2 separate regions of the Homo sapiens genome follow, and region 2 is linked to region 1. Evidence: promoter capture Hi-C in 16 types of primary human blood cells and fetal thymus (Javierre and others, 2016). All regions are on one chromosome and are shown on one strand. Each heading gives the region's core, a stretch centred on a gene start or on the middle of the fragment in contact. The rest is flanking DNA. Distances are from core to core; before and after follow the strand shown. Region 1 holds the start of KLHL2 (kelch like family member 2). Region 2 overlaps NAF1 (nuclear assembly factor 1 ribonucleoprotein).

Region 1 (4,373 bases), core at 40-2,539:
CCATGAATAAGCTCTCATGAAAAGGTAAACCATTCTTCAGGATGAGGTTTGTCTGCGATTTGAAAAGTCAGATTCAAAGGACTCTTGTTCCTTCCTAAGAGAAGAGGGAACCAAAATTGAAATTTTCGAAACTCCTGGGTATTTACAGTTCACTTTTACCAAGATGTTTTTAAAACTAAAAACTAAAATTTAAAAAAAAAACCCTTGTTCTGAATAATGCAATAATGTCTTCTACATAATGTTTCAGCTATTATTTCTAGAAAGTAATTCTGTTGCCAGTGATCTTGAATGTACTTGGGTACCAAAGAAAAAAGACACCTGTGCCTGGCAGGTCGATACGCTACTAATTTGCCCGAGGTACGAACGAAACAGAAGATGCTGATTTCTGGATAAAACGTTCTGCAGTGCCAGGTAAAAGAGGTCACATGCCCTGAACGGCCGCCGCTCATTTAGAGTGATGCAAAAGCTCCTCAGATATTAATTTTGTTAGAAATTCGGGGAATCAAGCAACCTAAGATCAATTCATTTAGACAGCGGGTGACTGGTACTTTCCAGTTTCCTTTTTTCAACGGACTCAGTGCATCCTAGCCTGATCTCTTATAAAGGGGTAGGCAAACTCGGCACCAGGTGCCCATGCATTTCAGGGAGGTACACACAGGACCTGCAGGGTCACCCATGCACAGCCCCACCCCGAATCTTCTATCCGCCCGAGATGGGGAAGACCCTTCCCCAGAAATCCTGGGCAGCGTTTTAAGTCACCGCCTGGCCAGGCTGAGTTTCCGTCCGCGTCCGCTCAGGACTGCGGGCACAGCGCCTCGTCACGCCCCGCATCTCCCACCTCCCGCCGGCCCCGGCGGCTGTCCCCAGAGCTGCGCCCGCGGCCGGCGACACGCGCCGCAGCGGCGCGCTTATCCGCAGCGGCGCAGCCCGCCCGCCCGCTCACTCACGCGGGAGGCAGCGGCGGCGTCTCCATTGTGGCTCCTCTCGGGCTTCAGAACGCAGGCACCGACCAACACAGCCAGCACCATTCCAGCCGCGGACGCCGGCACTGCCCGCCCGCCGAGCCGCGTTCCATCCGCCCCGGAGGGGGCGCCGCGCTCTCCTCACCGCGCGCCACCACCTGCGGCGGCGGCCCCCGCGGCCATGGCCCGCTCGGCCGGGCGCGCTCCGTCTACTGCGCGGCTCCCGCGCTCGCCCGAGTGCGGGGCGGCGGCGACGGGACCGGCGGGCGCGCGGGCTCGGCCACTTCCGGGTTCGGCCCCGGCCGGCGCCGACGCTGTGACGGGACTGCGATGCGGCCTCCCGCGGCGGCCGAGTACCCCTCCCTCGGCGCCTCCCCTTCCTCCTGCTGCTGCTGCTGCCGCTGCCGCTGCCGCTTCTGCTTCTGGAGGCGGGCGGGCGGGCGCCAGCCGGGTGCGGGGCGGGCGTGCCCAGACGCTGGCCCGCAGGCCGGGACGCGGGCGGCGGCCGCCCACAGCGGGTCTCTGGATCGCCGGGACGGGGGCGCTGGAAAATGGGAGCGGAGGGGGTTCTCCGTGCAGAAAAAGGGCGGCCGAACGCACGGCGTAATAATGCTCGGTATCCACTTGCTGCTCTGCTTCGCGGGCGTGTACACGTTATTCTTTTCATTTGTGCCTGTACCCAGGGAGATGGGAAGGGTAGGCATAACCAACCAGTGTCCTTACAAAGGGTGGCACTGAGGCAAGAAGAAGTGATTTGCCTGTCCAGTGTCCCAGGCAGGAAGCAGGCTCTCCCTCCTCAGTATGCTAGCCATTCCTTGGACAAGTGAAGTGAGCACCTGCTAAGCAAGGTTTTAGTGCTGCGGCTGTGACAGCAAAACCAAGTCTTTCTGCTTGTGGAGCTGTCCATCTAGACGGGGTGACGGAAACAGTAAGTGATGCTTACCATGAAGAAACATAAATGAGGATGAGGAGAGGGAAAGAGATTTTAGAAAGAGTGGTCAGAGAAGGCCTCTCAAAAGGCATGAGTTAAAGAGATGGAATAACAGGGGCTTTGAGTAATGCAAAGAATGCCTAGGGCAGAGGGAAGAGCAGCGTGGAGACTGCTAAGCAAGATCCTGCCTGCCTTGTTGAGGAACGGGAAGGAGAACAGTGCAGCTGGTGGTTCTCCAAGTATGCCCGCTGGAAGCAGTAGCACCTGCGAACTTGTTAGAGATGCGAATTTTCCAGTCCCACTTTAGCCCTACTGAACCAGAAACTCTGGGGGTGGGGCCCAGCAGCGTGTGCTTTAACAAGCTTTCCAGATGATGCTTGCTGGGGCCGCGAGGGTGGGAGACCCTCTAATGAAGCAGAGTGAGGTCAGGAGGACGGCGGCAGGAATGGGTGTGGCGAGGAGTAATCACAGATCACCCAGGCCTTGCAGGCCGTGATAAAGGACTTGGCTTTTACTGAGATTAGAAGCAATTAGAAAGTGGTGAGTAGCTTGATCTGATCATTAAAAGGATGACTTTTCTGGGATTTGTTTGAAAATATCCCACAAAAAGAAGGACAGAGGTCGGGCGCCGTGGCTCACGCCTGTAATCCCAGCACTTTGGGAGGCCGAGGCGGGCCGATCACCTGAGGTCGGGAGTTCGAGATCCGCCTGACCAACATGGAGAAACCCCGTCTCTACTAAAAATACAAAAAATTAGCCGGGCATGGTGGTGCATGCCTGTAATTCCAGCTACTCGGGAGGCTGAGGCAGGAGAATCGCTTGAACTAGGGAGGCAGAGGTTGCGATGAGCCGAGATCGTGCCATTGCACTCCAGCCCGGTCAACAAGAGCGAAACAAACTCCGTCTCAAAAAAAAAAAAAAAAAGGACAGAGAAGTGAATAGATGAATATTTGCAAAATGTTAATTTTTGAGGCTAAGTGTTGGGTGCATAGGGGTGGTCATCATTTATGTGTGTTTATGTGTATGTTTTAAAAGATAATAATGGGCCGGGCGCGGTGGCTCACGCCTGTAATCCCAGCACTTTTTGGGAGGCCGAGGCGGGCGGATCATCTGAGGTCAGGAGTTCAAGACCAGCCTGTCCAACATGGCGAAATCCCGTCTCTTCTAAAAATAGCCGGGTGTGGTGGTGGGTGCCTGTAATCCCAGCTACTGAGGAGGCTGAGGCAGGAGAATCACTCGAACCCAGGAGGCGGAGGTTGCAGTGAGCCGAGATCGGGCCACTGCACTCCAGCCCAGGCAACAGAGCGAGACTCCGTCTCAAAATTCATAAATAAATAAAAGTTCATAATACAAAGTTTTTTTTAAAAAAAAAGATGACTGATTGCTGTATGGGCAACATGCATAGCGAGGCAAGAGAGCAAGCAAAGAGATTAGCCTAGCTGGGATGAAAGGTAAGGATGGCTTGGATTAGAGTCCGAGTGACTGAGAAAAGTGAACAGGTTCTGAATCTGTTTAGAAGGTAAAGTACTCAGGAACTGCTGACAGATTAGCATATAAAAGAAAGATGATCCTAAGGGTTTTGTTCTGATCTCTGGGGAGAATTGAGTTGCCCTTTACTGGGATTGGGGATATTGAGAAAGAACAAATATTGGAGGGCGGGGTGGAGATTGTATTTGTAAACTCTGATTTAGATATGGTAAGTTTGAGATGTCTGTTAAACATCCATGTGAAGATAGGTGTAGACAATTAGATATATGTATCTGGGGTAGATATAAATTTGGAAGTTGTTAGTATACAGATGGGTATTGAGATCAACTAGATTATGTAGCTAGAGAAAAGAAGTAGACCAAGAAGTAAGCCCTGGGGCACTCCAACATTAAAAAAGAAGAGGAGGAGGACTCAGCAAAGGCGATGGTAAAGGAACAACCAGGGAAGTAGAAGGAGATCCAAGGCAGGTGTCTTGGCAGCCTAGTGAAGGGTTCCAGAAAACAAACAAACAAACAAACAAAAAACCCTTAGTACACTTCAGCATGAGCTAACTTCTCTGTATGATGGTTCTGTTCAGAGCCATAATAAAACTTCCTACTTTACAAGGTTGTTTTAAGAATTAAGTGAAATAATTGATGTAAAGTATATAGCACATAAATGTATAATGGAAGCACTTAATAAATGTTAGTTGCTGCTATTATTTCTGTACACTTCTGTGGCCATCAGTTATACCTTACTCTGCTAGGAACTGGGTTAAGTCCTAGAGCCAGGAGATACTGACTTAGGTTTTACCAAACCTTTGGCCTGACTTCCTTCTGCATGCAAACTCAGTGAGTAGGGCTGACTCATCAGCCATTTCAGGAACTCTTTTGAGGCGGGGGGTGGGAGGTGGACTTTTTCTATTGCTTTTGTATCTTCCCACCCAAAATAGTGTTATGTGTACAAATAAATACTAAAAAATTACGATGTGTCCGTCTGACAGCTAGGCACAT
Region 2 (4,363 bases), core at 459-2,958, 2.1 Mb after region 1:
AGTTCTTTATATAATTTTACTTTAGAAAGTCATCAATTTACTGATACTCTTTTTTGCTCAATAAGCCTTCACAAATGCTTGAAAAGTCAACAGTGTTGTAAATTATAAATGTTACCTTTTCAGAGGGCCACTTTTGACATATTAGCTTCTTCCATTTTTGCATTGAAAGTTTTAGGCACCCATTTTTTGACTGGTATGTCTATAACCTCATTTTTAATAGGATGGATTTTTAATGTTATGTGGTACTCTTTTGAATATTTTGCTTAACTGAATAACCTTGTAGACCATACAGATGTTAGAAAATTAAAATATAATAATCTTACAAAACAGACAATAATTGCTCTTTCATGGATATTCCAGAAGTGTGGTTAGGATCTTGCATTTCTTTAATGCCATCGTTACGAGTATCTGTTATCACAGAAGCACAGTAATTTTTTTATTGGGATCTAGTATATAATTTCTGTATTAATGTGTTGTCTTTTTGATTACATGCAGTTGGACATTTAAATTGTCGTTAGCCATTTGTGTAACTGTTTAGAACTTGTGCTCAGTTTCCTTACTATTCGTAGGTAAGAAAAATGAAACCAGAAAGAAAGAGACTTGTCTGAAGTCATATTAGTGGGGAGGAGCAGATCTGAACTGGTAATAGATACATTCCAAACTGCTGTGTTTTTAGTATTTGTGGAGACCTGCATAGCAACGTTGGAATCTGGTCGTTTGGACTTTCTCATTATTTGGTTTCTGAATAATCATGTAGCATATTTTCTCAAAGTGAAGGATGAATGTATCATCTAATGTAAGCTTTTTAAAATTGTATTTGCTTGGATTATATTGCCTCTCAATAAAGCTTTTGACTTGGAACTGTGTAGTGTGTGGGAAATAAATGGTGGAGCTTCTTTAGTATGTTGAATTTTAGTAGTTCATTTGCGAAATGCTGTGGTGTTTGGGGATGTTTATTTCCATGCAAGCTTTTCATTTGCTAATGATGTGAATGAAATAGTTTTCTTCCTTTCCTTTCCTACTCTTTGTTATGTGTAGAAGTATTGAATAAATGAGTCCAGAAAAACTTTTTGCTGTTCTTTGATTTTTTGTTAGTAAACATTTACAAAAATTTCATTTGTATGATAAAATAGTTATTTCTAATGGCAGATAATGTACATCCAGAACAGGCTTTTAGTTGCATTTTAATTTTGGGAAACAATGAAATTAAAATATAGATTTATCACAAATCTCCATTTCCAAGTAGAGTATTCAGGTTAGCATTAAGACTTCATTAGTAATATGGTGCATGCTGTTAAAATGTGGTCTTAAAATTATACCTGTGTTAATGGCCAGAAATAAATTGATATTGTTAATGCCTGGGAATATGTTTTGTAATGGAGGGCTTTTTTGATGTGTGAGAATGTAAAGCAGTGCTGTGTAATAGAGCTTTCTACAGTGTTGGGGATGTCCATATTGTGCTGTCTTACTTGAAATGTGGCCAGTGTGACTGAAGACCAAATTTTAAATTTTATTTAATTTTAATTAAATTTAAATTTGTATCTAATATTGAGTAAACAAAACAAAAAGTCTTTCCTATCTACTCATCATTCTTTTAACAGGGGTTGTTGGTATCCAGGCAGATACTTTAATCTTTCTAATCTGCACTAAATCACCTTGTCTTTTATTTTTAGTACCCTTGGTTGTTGCTTATGTGTGATGAAGAAGGTCTTTCTATCCCAGGCCTTTCCTATCACCTCTACCTTCAATTTTTTTAGTTTATTAGTATGCCTTTTACATCTAATTCTTTGTATCTTCTGTGCACTGCCAGAGTGGTAATGTCCCACAGTATGTTTTCTGAGACCAAATTTTAAATTTTATTTAATTTTAATTAAATTTAAATTTGTATCTAATATTGAGTAAATAAAACAAAAAGTCTTTCCTATCTACTCATCATTCTTTTAACAGGGGTTGTTGGTATCCAGGCAGATACTTTAATCTTTCTAATCTGCACTAAATCACCTTGTCTTTTATTTTTAGTACCCTTGGTTGTTGCTTATGTGTGATGAAGAAGGTCTTTCTATCCCAGGCCTTTCCTATCACCTCTACCTTCAATTTTTTTAGTTTATTAGTATGCCTTTTACATCTAATTCTTTGTATCTTCTGTGCACTGCCAGAGTGGTAATGTCCCACAGTATGTTTTCTGGCCGTATTTTCCCCTTTATTGGAGTGTGTCTGTGTTTCTCTTCTCTGTCACACATATACACCCTTCCCTGAAACGTGGAAAAGCAAAGTGATTGATTTTTATTTCCTTAAAGGAGATTTTATATCTGAGGAGATTTATTCATTATCTTAGGAGGGGCAGCAGGTGTGTTTTCAGGGAGCCAAGTGTTAATCTAATAATTGTAATAATGTTTGCTACTGCAACCCAGAGGTACCTATGCATCAATCCTAGGCAGTTAAGCTTCCTTGGAAGCCTGGCTTTTAAATTTTATTTTTGAGAAGATTAGGTTCAAGTCTTTTTCATTCTTTGAGGATTCTATATCGGGTTATATTTTCATTATCTGATTTCTGCTCAGACAAAGACTGACTTTTGAGATTTTTGCTAAGCTTGGACTGAAGAGGTAGGTTAGTTCATCTAATAGATATATATTAATACTAAATACCTACTATGTGCTAGCCATCTTTTTGGGTGCTATAGCAATGAGCAAGACTGGGTCCTCGTTATGATTGGGACTAAAAAGGTCTTAGTTATGGTTGGATTTATTGTGTAGTTAGAGAAATAGACATTAAGTAAATACAGAAATATTGGACAACAATGTGTTTAGAAAAAAGCAAAGCAGCAGGATAGTTTGATAAAGAATGACTAGGCTTGGTAGTGATACAGTAGATTAAATTTGCTAGTTGAAAAAGAGATGGTGACATTTGGCATTCATACATCAAAACAAAAATCTTATATTACCTTGTCTGACATGGCTGCCAAAGGAAATCGCTTTTTGTACCTTTCAGAGATCTATCCCCTTTGAACCTTCTAAAGTTCTCTCTGAACCTGCCAAAAATTTTCATGGAAAGCACATCTCTTGGGTGCCTTCCTGTTGGCGTTTGAGTTATTTTTCCTCTTTGTTCTCCTCTCTCGCTCTGTTTTTTTTTTTTTGTTTTTGTTTTGTTTTCTGAGATGGAGTCTTTTGCTCTGTCGCCCAGGCTGGAGTGCAATGGTGCGATCTCTGCTCACTGCAACCTCCATCTCCCAGGTTCAAGTGATTCTCCTGCCTCAGCCTCCTGAGTAGCTGGGATTACAGGTGCCTGCCACCATGCCTGGCTAATTTTTGTATTTTTAGTAGAGATGGGATTTCATCATGTTGGCCAGGCTGGTCTCAGACTCCTGACCTCAGGATCCGCCTGCCTTGGCCTCCCAAAGTGCTGGGATTACAGGCATGAGCCACCATTCCTGGCCTGTCCTCCTCTCTTAGCATGCTCATTTAAAAGAAACAAATAGATCTGTTTTCCCTTAATTCAGACCTCCACATATGTGCCTTTTTCAAAATTAATATATACTGCTTCATTTAACTGTACTTTCAAAGGCAGACTCTATAACAGGATCTTAACCTGGAATTATACAAGGATGGTTTCACTTACCTCTTACATATTTTGTATATACTATTTAGTTTTTATATACCTTTTATGTTTTGTGGAGTATTTGGGGCGAGACTTCATGTGCATCACTTTTATAGGTAGAGTTGTTACTATCAAGAGGCAACTTAATGCCATCACTGGCCTTTTTTAGGAATGCACAGGAAACTGTACGTTCCTATATTACAGAGTACTAGTGTGTCCGGAATTGGTAGGTTCTTGGTCTCACTGACTTCAAGAATGAAGCCGCAGACCTTCGCGGTGAGTGTTACAGCTCTTAAGGTGGTGCGTCTGGAGTTTGTTCCTTCTGATGTTCAGATGTGTTCGGAGTTTCTTCCTTCTGGTGGGTTCGTGGTCTTGCTGGCTCAGGAGTGAAGCTGCAGACCTTCGCGGTGAGTGTTACAGCTCTTAAGGCGGCATGTCTGGAGTTGTTTGTTCCTCCCAGTGGGCTCGTGGTCTCGCTGGCTTCAGGAGTGAAGCTGCAGATCTTCGCGGTGAGTGTTATGGCTCATAAAAGCAGTGTGGACCCAAAGAGTGAGCAGTAGCAAGATTTATTGCAAAGAGCGAAAGAACAAAGCTTCCACGGTGTGGAAGGGGACCCGAGCGGGTTGCCAATGCTGGCTGGGGCAGCCTGCTTTTATTCTCTTATCTGGCCCCACCCACATCCTGCTGATTGGTAGAGCCGAGTGGCCTGTTTTGTCAGGGCGCTGATTGGTGGGTTTACAATCCCTGAGCTAGATACAAAGGTTCTCCA

The links. Contacts are between HindIII fragments. The CHiCAGO score rates a contact against its expected background, and 5 or more counts as called.
Region 2: a contact is called between a fragment that was not itself captured here and the fragment with the promoter of KLHL2 in region 1, in 4 of 17 cell types (activated CD4 T cells, total CD4 T cells, total B cells and 1 more). The highest score is 12.1, in activated CD4 T cells.

The regions. Positions count from the first base shown.
Region 1 is chr4:165,204,477-165,208,849 of GRCh38, reverse strand. It overlaps KLHL2 (kelch like family member 2), which reads right to left and starts at 1,289. Exons shown (of 15, transcript NM_007246.4): 1 at 948-1,289. The coding sequence starts at 973. RefSeq lists a silencer at 988-1,637 and an enhancer at 1,168-1,668. The HindIII fragment of the contact is 2,287 bases long and covers 1-2,257 here.
Region 2 is chr4:163,153,661-163,158,023 of GRCh38, reverse strand. The region is part of intron 2 of NAF1 (nuclear assembly factor 1 ribonucleoprotein); the gene reads left to right. Among named protein-coding and RNA genes, the nearest start is that of NAF1, 11 kb to the left of the region's middle. The HindIII fragment of the contact is 1,475 bases long and covers 971-2,445 here.